2 separate regions of the Homo sapiens genome follow, and region 2 is linked to region 1. Evidence: promoter capture Hi-C in human tissues and cell types (Jung and others, 2019). All regions are on one chromosome and are shown on one strand. The core of a region is centred on a gene start or on the middle of the fragment in contact, and the rest is flanking DNA. Distances in the headings are between cores, read along the strand shown. Region 1 holds the start of DERA (deoxyribose-phosphate aldolase). Region 2 has its middle 180 kb from the start of EPS8.

Evidence for each region. Contacts are between HindIII fragments. The study calls those that stand out against the background at their distance.
Region 2: a contact is called between a fragment that was not itself captured here and the fragment with the promoter of DERA in region 1, in 1 of the 25 tissues and cell types used here (mesendoderm cells).

What each region holds. Positions count from the first base shown.
Region 1 is chr12:15,906,697-15,914,504 of GRCh38, forward strand. DERA (deoxyribose-phosphate aldolase) reads left to right here and starts at 4,636. Exons shown (of 9, transcript NM_015954.4): 1 at 4,636-4,718. The coding sequence starts at 4,688. RefSeq lists enhancers at 4,326-5,070, 5,071-5,814 and silencers at 4,494-4,553, 4,574-4,923. The HindIII fragment of the contact is 4,741 bases long and covers 1,633-6,373 here.
Region 2 is chr12:15,600,679-15,608,486 of GRCh38, forward strand. No RefSeq gene overlaps it. Among named protein-coding and RNA genes, the nearest start is that of EPS8, 180 kb to the right of the region's middle. The HindIII fragment of the contact is 8,413 bases long and covers 293-7,808 here.

The DNA.
Region 1 (7,808 bases), core at 3,386-5,885:
CTTGCCTTCTCATCCAATTCATCCCCTGGAGTCTCCTCTCTAGGTCCTAATTTCCAGTAGGTCATGGTATCCCAAGTTCCCACCTAATATTAGTAATTTACCTTTTTATGAATCAATTACTTCTCTATTTTAGTGTCATCCAGAGTTTTCTTCCAGGAAGCCAGGATTGAGTGTGGTCATTCAATTCTCTTCAGAATATTTTTCATGTCAGTAAAGTTCAACACATTCTTTATAACGTCTACAAAATAGCATAGATGCACCAAATAGCATATAGATGCACCATAATTTATAACAAATTATAGATTACATTTTTTAGTAGTTGCTCAAATTCCATGGAAGTATTTAGCTGCCTTTTCTTTGAGACCAAGGTTGGGGAAAAATGGATGCAATTTTTCAGAAGGGAGCAACAACAAGATGCATTGAAAAAGCAGACCAATGGAAAATATTTCTCAACTAGCTACCTTGCTTATGCTTTACACCTAGGGGATTAACAACTTAAAAAGAGGTTCTTATTAGGTTACTATATGTTACTGTGCATGTCTGTCTGCTACACTGGGGGGTTACCCATGAAAACATTGTTAAAGCAAGAACATTCTCAGATAAGAGGGGGCCTAGCTTTTCATTGGTTATCTATTTAATATAGAAATGCTTAATTGCAAGTGTGCTATAGTGTCACTTAGACTGAGGTGACTAGATCAGTAGAGTTCTCGGAGGCATCTAACAAATTTACCTTTGGAAACAAGGCCCAAGTATGCGTCTAAATGATAGCTAATGAACAATAATAATACTTTATAGATTGAATCACTTTAATGAGAGAATAGAACATGGTCAAGTGGAAGGTAACTGATTTTAGTTTAAGGACGAGTATGGAAATGATATAAGTGCCTTACGTTAGGTTTTAATGTTAACACGTGTGTCACTTTTTAATCTCTCCCAGTAATCCAATGAGATAGGTAATTGTCTCCGTTGCATATATGGAAAACCTGAATTTCAGAGAGGTTTAATGGTTTGTCTAATAAGTTTAGCTTCCAAGAGATAGTAGGGAATAGTGTGTAGTCTAAGGTTATATATTGTTATATGATTATATATTGCCAGGTTTTAAGCAATCGTCTAGCACTTACAGGCAAATCTCTCTTAGCCTCAGTTTATCTGTACAGGGAGAAAAGAGTTCTCACAGATTTTTTTCAGGAAAAATCTCATAAATATGAAATACCAAATACTTTATGGAAAGGACTTAATTCACAGGAAGCACTTAATATTAGCGAGTATTATATATTGTATCAGTGATTCCCAAGCTTTAGGATTCTGTGGCCAATAGACTTCAAAATGGGGGAGAGGAGATGGAATGGTCGGCTTCTAGCCAACTGAGGCTATTAAAAAAGAAAAAATAATTATCTAACGCCACGATCTTTATAAAACGACATTTTAAAATTCAAATTGGTAGTGAACAACGTAGTCTCAGAATGAAGGAGTGTTCTTTAAATTGAATAAATTTAGCTTCATAAAACACTCAGTATAATTCTTATTTTTTTTTTATTTTACCATGAACTAGGAATTGGATGTTCTATTAGTCTCCCTCCAGTTCTAAAATATTTTGACTCTAATATTCACAATTTTTCATAGTCCTCCCTGCTCCTACACTTTTCTCCATCTGACCTAGAAATGCTGGCTGACAGTTTGTAGTCTAAGTGGTTATTTACCTAATGAACTTGTGAATAATTGCTCTTAGAAATCATAGGAGTAGAGACTATATCAAATGAAATTTGACTGGATAAAACAGTAGGCAGTATAAGAAAAGTAGCAAAGACAGCAATATACACTCATTCATCTAACAAATATTTATAGTCTACTAATTGCCAACTACTGTACTAGATCCTACATATGATGAACCAAACACAAATGATCTATGCCCTTTGGACCTTAAAATTTGTTTTACTCCTATCTCCCAGGACTGGTAGGTTCTTAGAAGCTTCAAGATAAATATTACATATTCCTAGAGCTTTAATTTTAATTAAAGGAGGAGTGAGGGTGGGAGGATAATTAGGTAATTTATTTGGCAGTTTAAAATTTACATTGAAAAACATCAATGAATAGGAATAGCATGCAAAATTTACATGGCTTAAAAAATACAACATGTAATACTTTAAAAGCAATTTTACTCTTGTAAGAGTCAGTTTGGGCTATGGCTCCAGATTGGCATGCATAGTTTATTTTCCTCTGCTTCTCATTGGTGGTTCTTTACGTTTAGTTTGCATAAACATTGTTTGAAGAAATATTAAAATTACAGATTCCAGGGTCCTAGATACTCTGATTGAGTAGGGCTGTGAGGAAGCCCAGAACTGCTTTAGAAAAAGCTCTTGGGTGATTCCCATGTAGTGGTCTATAGCTCTTTCTTTGAGGGGACTTGCCTTAGGGATACTTCAGAAGTTTCATAAGGCAATAAATGTAAAAGGAATCTTCACAAAATGAAATATAGGAACATTTCTCTGTGAAAGAAACTCATTTTTTGCATACTATCCCTGCTGTCTCTCCTAATGTTGCCAAATTAACATACTTTTAAACTGCAGAGATTAATTTGAGATTAATACATTCAACAGGTCCATTTTAGAAAAAGTCCTTGAGAAATTCTTGACTGATACATTGCTAAAACATTGCTTTAAGAGGCTGCCCTAATTCTGATTTTTCAACTAATTTAGGATATCACAATTTAAAAACAAACAAACAAACATTTATGTAATGAATGGTATGGAATCTGGTTTGGAGTTGTGTTTACTTCTAAAAATAGAATTTCATGTATTGCCTTTGTATCTTCTAGAGATGTGAATGATCTCCAGCCAGAGACCACCAGTAACACACCTACAAGTGGACAAAGTTGTGTTTATTGACATTGTAACAAGGGAGAATGCTTGCCATGGGCACCTAATGTGAGGTGTCTCAGTAAGAGGATGTTAGAAACTACATAGGATTTGGGCCTGTCGTAGGTGATTTGGGGAAAGTTCAAGGAAGGATCTGGACTGGATGATGGTAGGAACTGGTGATAGTAGTGCATCTTAATTCTTATCTAAAACATAGGAATGGAGTGAAGCTAGAACTGATTGGTAAAGAAGTCATAATAGCTAGGATAGGGGCTATTTGAACAATATTCATGGTTTTCTATTATCAGACATGATTATGATTATGTTTTTGTTGATTCATTGTGGTCACAATGGCCTTGGCTGATGCTGTGCTGTGAAATTGTATACGTTTAACCAGGGAAAACCATGGTCCAGTTGTGAGTTTCAGGCCAGCTCCAGGCTTTCAGGGCCTGCTTTTCTCTTTTTCAAGGTTAATATAAAAAAGAAAAGTGCTATAGTATGTATGAGTAAGATCTACACACATCCGAAACATTCAACAGTGGCTGTGTGTGGACAAGGCTGAAAGCTCAATGTAGAGGAGTATACAAATATTACTATTCCTATTTAAAACAGCTCAGTAATTACTGTGTGAACTTGACAATAACATTAACAGCTTCCATTTTTTAAGTATCTACTGTATGCCATGTTATGTACTAGGTGCCTTGCATACATTCAACAGCTTTGCAAGGTGAACATATTTTGATCATCTCCACTTTACAGGTAAGTAGACAGACTATTATTTCCAGAACTGCCAAGTTACATTTATTAAATGGAAGAGCTGGTATATTAATGGGTTCAGCTCATTTTGAGCTCACTGTATTTCCCCTATACCAGGATGCCTTTCTATTCAGAACTTTGATGTCTAAAGTTACAGCAATGGAGATAAAATACATTATTGGCAGGATTGTTCAGAGACTCAAATGCTATCATACATCTATATATGATGTATGAAAGCACCTAGCACAATAACTGGCTCATGGTAGACAAATCATAACTAACTGTACTGTTTTCATAGCAGAGGTGCCTCTAAACGTGAGTACAGATAAGTTAACTATATTGAGATTGTGGAGTGACTCGACGATTTTAACCTCTTGGTCACAGAGAAATCAGGCTGAAGCATTTTACCTTTATAGAATCATAGTATTTTGAAGAACCAAGAAATTGTCAAGGTCTTCTTTTACAGATGAGAAAAATGAAGCTCGGAAAAGCAGTTAATTTGCCCAGGGTCACACATTTAATTATTGCCCGAGCTTGGCTAAGAAACCAGGTCTTCTGACTCCTAAGCCCTTGCCTTCTTCAGGCCACATAGCTGCTTCTTTTCATGATGTGTAGATTAGAAAAGTCAGTGTGCCCCGGGGCCCTTGATTGCACCTTGGTTTCCCTAACAAGGATATGGGATCCCTGCTGACATTTCAGACCTTAAGTTGCAGAGCTCTGCACTTGGATCTTCTTCCTTCTTGTTATATAATCTTACAGTTAAAAGTTTCTAGGAATATTTTTATTACGTGCAATTGGCAACTTCAGTATTTTTTAAAGGGTGTTGGTAGCATTATTTCCGGGAGCTACTTAGCGCTCCGGTTCGGTACCTCGTGGAGAAGACGGGGGAGGGGAGCAGCGAGATTTCCTTGCGGAGCAATATTCCTAGGGTACAGACCTCGTAGCCCGGGCCCGCGACTCCGCCCCGGGAGCGGGCAGGGGCGGGGCGAGCGCTCCAGCTGGCGGGAAGGAGGAAGGGCCGGGCGCGGCGCAGAGGCGGGCGCCTACCAGCCGGCAGCTCCGGAGCTGCCCGCGCCATGTCCGCGCACAATCGGGGCACCGAGCTCGGTAAGGGGCCCGCGGGGCTCCCCATCCCCTCTCCCTCGCGTTCAGCGCCGCCGGGACTAGCGCGGGGCCTGCTGCCGCCCAGTGCCCTGGCTGTGGGTCCCCGAGGGGTTTTCGCTGGGGCGGGAAGCAGTGGCGTCTGGTCAGCCCTCACCCCAAGTAAAGGCCGAACCCGGCACGTTCGCGCCGCTTGTCTTTGCACCTAAGCTTTTACTCTTGTATGCGGAAGGAGTAGGAAAGGGTTAGATTATTATCTTCCTGCCTTTTCGTTCACTCTAGCTCGCTGGTTGGAAAACCCAACAACCCAAAAAACAAAACCCAAAACAAACAACCCCCAAGCAGGTAAAAACAGATAAAAACCTTCTTTCTCCTCCTTTTAATAGAATACTTGTGTAATTTAATGCAGTATTTCCGTAGATAATTTTAACCGTAACCTTGAAGTGGCCGTGCTCGTGGAAAAGTTGTCAGCCGTCTGTGCTCAAAATGTAACACTGCAGATTCATGGGATTTTAGAGTTACAAAGATTTGTTAAAGTACCTGTATTATTTCCCAGTTTTCATCTTTTTTTATATTGTTCAAATACTGGCAAGAAACCTTAGTTCAGATTTCTTTTTTTTTTTTTTTTATTGATCATTCTTGGGTGTTTCTCGCAGAGGGGGATTTGGCAGGGTCATAGGACAGTAGTGGAGGGAAGGTCAGCTGATAAACAAGTGAACAAAGGTCTCTGGTTTTCCTAGGCAGAGGACCCTGCGGCCTTCCGCAGTGTTTGTGTCCCTGGGTACTTAAGATTAGGGAGTGGTGATGACTCTTAACGAGCATGCTGCCTTCAAGCATCTGTTTAACAAAGCACATCTTGCACCGCCCTTAATCCATTTAACCCTGAGTGGACACAGCACATGTTTCAGAGAGCACAGGGTTGGGGATAAGGTCACAGATCAACAGGATCCCAAGGCAGAAGAGAATTTTTCTTCAGATTTCTTAACATGTGAAAAATTTATAATTCAAACAGCAAAACCATGATCAAGAGAAGGTTTAAGCGTCTCGTTTAAGTATTATAGCTTGGATATCTGTGTATCCAGGATCTTTAACTTCTTACCTGTGTGACTTCGGACAAATTAATAACTTTGCGCTTAAGTTTCTTCATCTGTAAAATGGTTATTTTAGTGGTAGTTACCTTATAAGGCCGTTAGGAGATTAAATAGGATACATGTAAAGTAGTTTGGTATATTGTGGACACCTAGTAAGTCTTCAGTATAGATAGTATTAGTATATGGAGTTATGGTTTTAGGGGCTAATTTTGAGAAAATTGGCTGTAAATTATATGTAACACATACAGGTAGGTCCTTTTCGCCCTCCTTAAAAGTGACTGGTACTTAAACAGTCTGCACTTCCAAGAGGTGTTCTGGATTTTTTGTCGAATGGTAAGAGAGTAAATCTATCATTTTAAAGACAGTTGATTTACTAACCTGGTTGATTTTGTTTTAGTCACTGTCCTCTAGCTGATTATGTTTTAAACTCTAGTCCTATCTCTGGAACGTGGTCTTTAGTAATAACGGCATTATTTCTTAGATTGGAATATCCTTGAAGGTGGTGGATATGGGGCAGGTTTGGGGTGGTGTCTTACCTGGGTATTCCCAGGAATATGACCATGTGACTATGCATACATCAAGGATGTGCCCTAAATTTCCCAAAACTTAGACATTTTAAATTTTTCTTTCAAAAAACATAATTGAACCATTTTTAAATTTATTTATTTGCAGTAATTAGAATCAATCACTTCCATTCATTTGTTGAAAAGTAATAGACATAAATAATTGCCAGGTAGAACAATAGTAAATGTGGTTTTTATGCAGCTATCGAAATGATCATAGCTTTGTATTTATTATCTTATTTGTTAAAATCAGATTTTTTTCCTTCACGGGTATTAATCCTTAATCCAAACAGGTTTAAACTGAAATGCTAAAATAAGTTATTTGAATTAGGTACTAGGGAAAAAAATCTTTCAGTATTAATTTATGCAGTATATTAACTGATGATTTTTAAAATAGTTTTCTAATTGAAAGTCTTTTTAATAAACATCGTAACTAATTTCTAAAATAAATTAACATTTTTGCTTCCCTTTTCTTATTACAAAAGGAATTCATGGTTATTGTAAAAATTCTAGAAAATACAGTTAGCACAAAAATGTTGTAATATTATTACTAGTCCAATCACTGTTATTTATGATTTGGTGTATGTACTTCTAGTTCATGGACTTAAAAAAACATTGAGTTCCTTTGAGACTAAACCTGACCCTCATGATTAAAAAGTCTTTAAGGAAAACATTGGCATTTGGATGTATGAAAGATGTTTTCCAAATAGGGAATGTACCCTCTAGCTTTCATATTAGAGGATGGGGCCCAGCATTCTGAGTTTTAACAAATCCTGTGGGTAGTACTGAAGCATACCCAAGTTTGAGAACCAATGGCTTAATGATCTCCAAGGTACTATCAAGTTTTGTACCTAGACTATTATGCCCTATATAGTCTATTAAAATGTACAGATATTCTTCTATTTTATTAGATGCCACTTAACTATTGCCTAAAATGCAGGTGTCACGTGGGTAGTGATCTTTCTTTTGTTCACTGATGTGTCCCAAGTACCTAGAATAGTGTTTGGTACACAGAAGGCCCTCAAAAATGTCTTGAGGCTGGGCATGGTGGCTCATGCCTATAGTCCTGGCACTTTGGGAGGCTCAAGGCAGCCGGATCACTTGAGATCAGAAGTTGGAGACCAGCCTGGCCAACATGGCAAAACCCTATCTCTACTAAAAATACAAAAATTAGCTGGGCATAGTGGCGCATGCCTGTAGTCCCAGCTACTTGGGAAGCTGAGGTACGAGAATCGCTTGAACCCAGAGAGTGGAGGTTGCAGTGAGCTGGAATTGTGCCACTGCACTCCATTGGGCAACAGACTGGAGACAGACTGTGTCTCAAAAAAGATAAAAAAAAAAAAAAAAAAAGAAAAAGTCTGTTGAATGAAGGAATGAATTGAGAGCTGCTTCTTACTTGGGGGAACTGGGGAATCTACCTGGTCCCCGTGTATGGTTGCATG
Region 2 (7,808 bases), core at 3,249-5,748, 310 kb before region 1:
CACTTGGCAGCAAAGGAGATGGCACCTGACTCAGGGAGCAATGGGGGTTTCTTTCTAATGTGCTAATCCCTTTATGTTCATATCCTCAACTTCAAAACATCATTAGGAAGTGAGAATACTCATTTCCCAGGTGACGAAGTTGAGAGACAATAAGGTGAAGAGGCAGCGTAGTTAAATTACAACTACAGGGTTAGAAAGTGGCAGAAGCAGGATTCCCGGCCAGCTCTGCCCAGCCCTAAACCTTTTCCCCCACAACTTCATGCTGTTTCTCGTTCATACTTAGCATGGATAAAGTGCAGTAGGATGGAATTAATAGATTCATCTCCAGGTAATGTGTTTAATATAGAGGGCAGACATTCAATTTGAGAAATGGTAAATCTCTAACCTTCTAAGAAAATCATTTATTTATTGAACCTTTCATGCCAGGCACCGTAGAAGGGGCTATGGCTATGAAGATGGATGCAACAAGATTCTTGCTTCTAGTTTACATTCTAATAGGGGAAATCAGAAGTAAAAATAAGGGCAACAAAGTGTAACAGACACCGTGATAGAAACACAAAAAGTATCCAATATAGGTCCAAGGGAAGGATAGGTGATCTTTTTTTTCTAGAAGGGTCAGGAAACACTATACTACTATATTAAAGTACTAATAACTATAGGGCCACATTAAGCAATACTAAAGAGGAACATTCATTGCTCATTCAGCAAACATGAAACACCCAGTATGCATCAGTCACTGGGGCCCATATGGATGACTAATCCTCCCACCCTGCCTTCTGAACCTATTCTTCTTGGCACCTTCCAAGGGGACCATTTCTCTTAAGATGTCCACAAACAGCTCCAGCTCATGTATCACTCAGCAGAATCTAGTGGATTTACTCTTACTGCAAACCTAACAGAGCATACTGGGACTACTTTTCAAGACCCTTTGCAGAGTTCTGGGCAATGGAATGTGTGCTTCCTGGCCTCTGGACCATGAAAATTACCCAGGAGCAACCTTCCATTCCACCCTCCCCCACCCCTCTTCTTTCTTGTCTCTCTCTCTCTGTGTGTGTGTGACTGTGAATGTGTGTATGTCTCTTTCTCTCTCTCCCTCTCCTCTACCCCAACACAGATGGTGGTGCCACAGATAGGAGGACTCTGGGTCCCTGAATCACCACTTGGGGCAGGGATATCTGGTAGCATTGGCCCATTATGTGATCAAGAAATAGATTTCTATTGCATTGTCACTGAAACTTGGTCATTGTCAGTTACAGCAATCAACCTGCCCTTAACTAATATGGCAGCACAAGGATAACCTTTACAACAATGTTCCATCTAAGTTACAATAGGAAGTTTTCAGAGCAATGGTGTGTGACTGCCCAGTAAAATTCCCAGAAGACAGTTAAAGATGAAGCAGTGCAGAGCAAAGTAAACCCACAATGCAAAACAAGGGTTCAGGAAAGGCCACAAAAGCAATAATGGTTCCTTTAATAAATAAACTTTTTAACAGAAATATATGAATTCTTCTTTATAAGTTGTTTTCCTCCAGGTTAGATCTCTCCTGATCTTTTGGTTGTCATTGCTTTTCACACCCCATCATAAGACCATGACTCAGGACACCCACTAGAACTTCTTACCCTTACACTAGGCCATTGCCTCTGAATCAGACTCCTGGATTCCTATTAACAATATACCCCAAAGTGGTTTCACATCAACAAAAGCTCACACATACAGGAGCCCATGAGGCTTGGTGTTTGGAGTGATGCTGGGCAACCCAATCCTTTACATTTTGTGCGTGTCCTGGTGCGTTCCAGGGCCATGGTCACAGTTCAAAGCCAGCTGACACGAAATATTTTTGTTCAGTTCTAAGAGCACCAAAAAGTTCAAAGGGCAGTTTAAACTAGAAAAAGTTAACTGTAACCACTACATCCTTTATAAATATAAAACAGGATGGTCTTAGAAAGGTTCCTTCATGTCCAAAACCAAATTAGATCATATTGCCCCTTAACCAATGAACTTGGGAAGTGACACAGGACAGGGTCCAGCAGGACAGCAGAGCAGAGGGGCTTAGAATAAGGGACTGTGGTTGAAGAGAGGCTTGAGCTAAGTCTCTGCTCCTGACTACATATAACTCAGTCATCTAATCTATGAAATGACATCCTGATGGTAGCTTTCACATAGGGAGTCTTAGTCAGGGCTGCTGTAACAAAGCACCATAAACTAGGTGGCTTTAAATATTTCTTACGGTTCTGGAGGCAGTAAGTCCAAGATCAAGATGCCAGCATGGTCGGTTCTGGTGAGAGCCCTCTTCTGGGTAGCAGACAGCTGCCTTCTTGTATGCTTACATGGCAGAAACAAGGCAAGAGAGCTCTCTGGGGTTCCTTTTATCTGGGCACTGATCCTATTCATGAAGGTTCCACCTTTATGATATAATTACTTCCCAAAGGCCCCACCTTCTAATATCATTACATTAGGGATTAGGATTTCAACATATGAATTTTGGGGGCAAATTCAGTCCATTGCATAGGGCATCAGAAGATAACATGTGTAAGGATCTGAAAACAATACCAGGAATAGTTTAGTACATTACATACCACCCTGTTACAAGCCAATCTCCCACAGTCTCTAAGGGCCATCCTGATAGTCTTCAATAGACTTGGTAAGAGCATCTGAAGCTGGTATCTGACCTAGACTGACTGGGTTTTTCCAGGGTGACACCTGAACCCCCTCCCCTGGCAGCTACCCTCACAGTCACAGACCTTGGAATATAAAAGAGGTATAGTCTGTGACCCAATGTGGATGACCTTGTGTCATAGGCATTTGATGCAAAAGCAGAAGCTAGTGTTCCAGATAAGAGTCCTGGATTTCCCAGGCCTGGATTTCCAATTCTTTACTAGCAAATGTATTACCAATGTGTGTGTTTTATGTCCAGTGTATGTAATCTATGCTAGCGGGTTTCCCAGAAAAGCAATGTCAGCACCTAATTTACATTCCATGAAGATGTCTGCAGCTGTACAGATAATCTGCACAAATTCCTTGCACTAAAACTATATCTAGAGAGCTGACTGCTTCTAAGACAAGACAGCCAATTTGTACAAACCTTAATATGTACATACGCCTGGGTCAAGTTAAGAAGAGATGCTTGGCGTGAACAGACACCGCTTGTGAGCACCACTTAATCCCTCTGTGAACTGGTTTCCTTGTTTGTTAATGGCAATAATAAGAGCCTCCTCCACAGGGCTGCACTGAGGATTAAATGTAAAGCCCTTGGCATGGTGCCTGGTGGTCTGAGGGTACAGAATGGCATAATTGAGAAAGTATAGTCTTCAGAGTCACAGAACTCTGTGCTCTTATGCTGACTAGCAGTGTGGCCTTGAGAAGTCACCTACTATTTCTCAGCCTAAGTGTTCCCACAATAAAAAAATAATATCTACGTTTTCAAGTTGTGGTAAAACTTATAACTGGTTGTGTAAAGCACCGGCCAAAAACCTGGCAGAGTCAGCATAGCATAAATGCAGTATGATTCTTCAAATTTCCAAATCTCTCCCTCTCTTAGTGCATTTAGGCCACCAAACCCACCTACTCCTTTCAGTACCAAGACATCTACAGAGTGAGTGTGCCCCTTTGATTTCTCAGTCCCACATGGGCGCCCTTAGCATGAGCATGCCCCCTACACAAGGTCAGCTCCCAGAGCAGCAGTAACAACCCAACCCATGAAGTGCTGCCACACTTGGAGTCAGCAGCTCCCGTAAGAGGCAGAGGTTTGGCCAGGCGCAGTGGCTCACTCCTGTAATCCCAGCACTTTGGGAGGCCAAGGCCAGCAGATTACCTGAGGTCAGGAGTTCAACACCAGACTAGCCTGGCCAGTATGGTGAAAATGCGTCTCTACTAAAAATATATATAAAAAAATTAGCTGGGCGTGGTGGTGCATGCCTGCAGTCCCAACTACTCGGGAGGGTGAGGCAGGAGAATCGGTTGAACCCAGGAGGCAGAGGTTGAAGTGAGCCGAGATCACGCCACTGCACTCCAGCCTGGGCGACAGAGCAAAACTCCGTCAAAAAAAAAAAAAGAGGCAGAAGTTTTGTTTGCACATACATGTCACATATTGGGGTGGAAAACTCAGTTGGAAAAAATAATAAAAGAATTTGGAAGCATCCAGGCAATTTCAGATATCTGTTTTAATTTGCGTTCTGTAAATCCACTGCGCTGTCACCAAGGTATAACAATAGTCATTTTCTCATTCTTTTTTTTTCCATTTGCTGCAATGCAAATGAAACAAATTACCCAGACTTCCAAATTCCATCCTATAATAAGATTGGTTTTGGAGATGAGGCAATAGACTAACTTCCCTGTGCTGTTTTCCTAATAAAAAGTGCGCCCTTACTTATATACTGCAAGATACGAGGTTGCTACAGGCTATTAACACCATGACCTGCTTACCTTGCAAAGAGCTGTATTTTGTGTGTGTGTATGAGACAGAGTCTCGCTCTGTCGCCCAGGCTGGAGTGCAGTGGTGTGATCTCAGAAGAGCTATATTTTATGAGCTAGCAACAGCTCATGGCACCTGTCTTAGCCTCTTTTAGCCTATGTTCCAATAGCTCTGCTGCTAGGTTCCTTCACTAGTGAAAGACAAATCAATCCTTTTCCCACATACCTCCTAAGAGCTGGAGAGGACACTGTCGTTGTGTTTACTGAATAAACCACACCACAGATTAACTTGAAGCAAATGTATATCTACTCCTAGTTTGGGCCTGGCTATTACGAGCAGGGTTGAGACTAAGATCCAGTAATTTTTGCCCTGATTTCTTGGTATTTTATGTAATGTCGATTCCAAAGCATAAATGTGGACCTATGAGAGAACGTCCAAAGCTAATTTTTCTATCTAAACAAAATAGCGCTTTGAGGAGGTGGTCAGTCATCTGAAATTCCCCACAGATGCAAATGACCTTTGCAACTGAGAATTATATCTCCTGGTTCAACTGCTGCCTGGAACAACCACTGTCCAGTCTACCTTCATGTCCACCCGCAAGGGCCTTCATGGGACCTGGAGTTCCAAGGTCCAGAGATTTCCAAATAAAGCTCCCGGACTCCTCTCTGCATCTTCAGTGCTGATTTTACCTGTGTTATATGGAGGCATACTATATAAAATTTCATTTTTTAAAAAAGTGCTTTTTCTGCTTAAATTGTTGTATACACTGACCTATATAATACATGAGAGAAAAAAAGTTTGCATGATATATAGAAGTCCAAGAAATTGAGTCCAAATTCAGTTGTCCACTTTGTAATCTTTTACAAGCTACCTAACTTATCTGGGTTTCAATTTCCTCTCTTATAAAGTGGGATATATGTGAAAGTGCTCAGCACACATGAATTCAGTTCCTGTTTCCCTTTCCTTAGAATAGATGGGAGGGCAGAAGGCCTTGTCATATGGTACCAGTTCAGAGTAAGAAACAATGAAACAGGACAAACTGTGAAAGATCTAGAGATTTCAATTTCTGGCCAGTTTGTGTGTGCGTGTGCGTGTGCGTGTGTGTGTGTGTGTGTATGCATGTGTGCTTTATTCCATTTTTCCATGGGCTGAAAGGGCCTTCATTTCATTTTTGGAGGAAACAGGAATGATTGAACATGGGGAAATTATATTCTACTCCATATGCAGAGCTTTCCCACCCGAGGCAGCCCAGAAATGGAGCAGGAATTGGGCCAACTGCCTGGGACTACAGTCAGGAAGGAAAGAGCCGTGAGAGCCGCCTGGACCAGGACCATCTGGGCCCCTCAGCAGTCCTGGCTCATCGCACACCTCCTTCCAGCACCAAGCTCAAGGTGATGTGCCCAAAGCTCTTTCGAAGGCATTTCAACTGTTAAGATAACCAGTTCATACAGAAATCCACATCCGGGACCTTAGTTCTCTCAGAGCACGTAATAGCCACATCTTCCTCCAATTCACCTTCACGTTTAATTGTGTAGTTCTTAGTAATGCTATCTTATCAGAATTATACTAACTTTTCATTTTTTAACCTTTCTTTCACAAACGTGATGAGATAAATCTGAACATTTGGGTATTAGAAGATAGTTCTGCCAAGTGCGCCCCCCACTCAAAATAAAAACAAAAACAAAAAACAACTGAGCATTTCCCGAAAAACTGCTCTCAGAACACTGGCTTCTTTTCCTGTCCTCAACTGAGGATAGAAAGGAACAAAGAGGCAAGTAAAGGGGCTGTGAGATGATGTGGGAGTAGGTCTTAAAAATGGAGGAGAAAAGAAGGGATTGGGGAACAAAGATGATGGAGAGAGAATGCGTGGGGAAAAAGAAACACGTCATACAAACTGAAATTCCCATATAGAACCCAGAACTGCTGAGAATGCACCCTTTCTCTGGAAGTCACTTGCAGCAACCATGGCTTTATAAGTATTTTATGTTTTATTTTAGTTTTTTTAATAAGTATGCAAGAGAAAGGTGGTATTACAGAAGATAAAATGCCTTCCTTGCCCAATCCATTCCTAAGGGCCCTTTGTACAACCCTCTGAACATCTTTCATGCTAGTTACTAAGTTAAGGCCATGCCCTTTGGGAAAAACTAAGTGTCACAGCGTAAAATTACAGTGTCTGGGAAGTCAGCACTGCTAGTTTTAGGATGTAATCTTGTCCTAAGAAATCAGTAAAACTAGATTCCGGGATAAATAAGGCAAACTGCAACGGTTCTTTAGATTGTGTGCGTTCCTTGAAGGCAGAGACCCTGTCCAGGTTTTCCCTTGAATATCCAATTCTAAAAGAAAACATGTGCTAAATGTTTATTAAATGAACATTGTCTCCTACTTAGAAACAACCAGTCTTCATATAAACTCCTTTATGGGCTCTCTACAATTTTCTAATGTTGTTCCACCTTCCTTATGCAAGCATTGAGAAGAAAGTGAGAAGACTCAGACCTGGTGAGATCTCCACCCAAGCCCTAGTGCAGCCTCTATAAAGTTAATTTTAGAAAACAAGTGAATCCCATATTTCCTATAAATTTTCTTAGAGAAAAGTGTGAAGAGTTTTAAGTGATTAGAGTACCTCTCACATTAGCTTCCCATGACCCAGTGCCTATTAAGGAGAGGGAAAGAGATAAAATCTATTGGTCCCCTTTTACAAGCAGTACGAGACTATCATATCTGGGATAAGGAAAACTTGTCGGCTCTCCGCCTGGGGACAATTCTGCAACCTCAGAGCAGCAAGCTATAATTCAAGCAGAACAAGATAGTCCCACTGAACTGAAGAGGCAAAGACCAGAATTCAGTTCACCTGAAGTGCCTGAAATTTCTAAAAAGGGGCACAAGGGTGGACGGATTTGTGCAGAGTGGCCACAGAAATCTGTAAGTAGATCCACCCCCCATCCTTGGCATAGGCAACATCACCCGAGGCCTACCAAACAGTGATTGCTACAAGGCTGAGAGTGGACTAGAGCTACCAGGGTAGCTGTGCAAGGGACATTGGCAGTCCAGCTCAGCAAAAGTGAGATTTGTTCGGCACCTTTTAACAACCTGGGATGTAAATTCAGCTAAGATTAAAAATATCCCGGGTATTCATCCAAAATGCAAAAAGGAACTTAGAACTAAGGAGCCTAGAGTAAAAGCTGCTCTTCTCAGGTACAAACAAAGCCTAGAACCATGCCCTGACAAGATTTGCAAAGGAGAGTTTTTAGATCGAGTCCCATTAAGTTAGAGGCTCTCGCAAAAAACATTTTGCTTTCTATAATTCATTCTAACAGAGCATAAAACCAAGCCTATACAATTCTAAAGTGATCAGCTGGTATTGAACTCCCTGCTAGAACAAAAATAAACATTCCTCAAG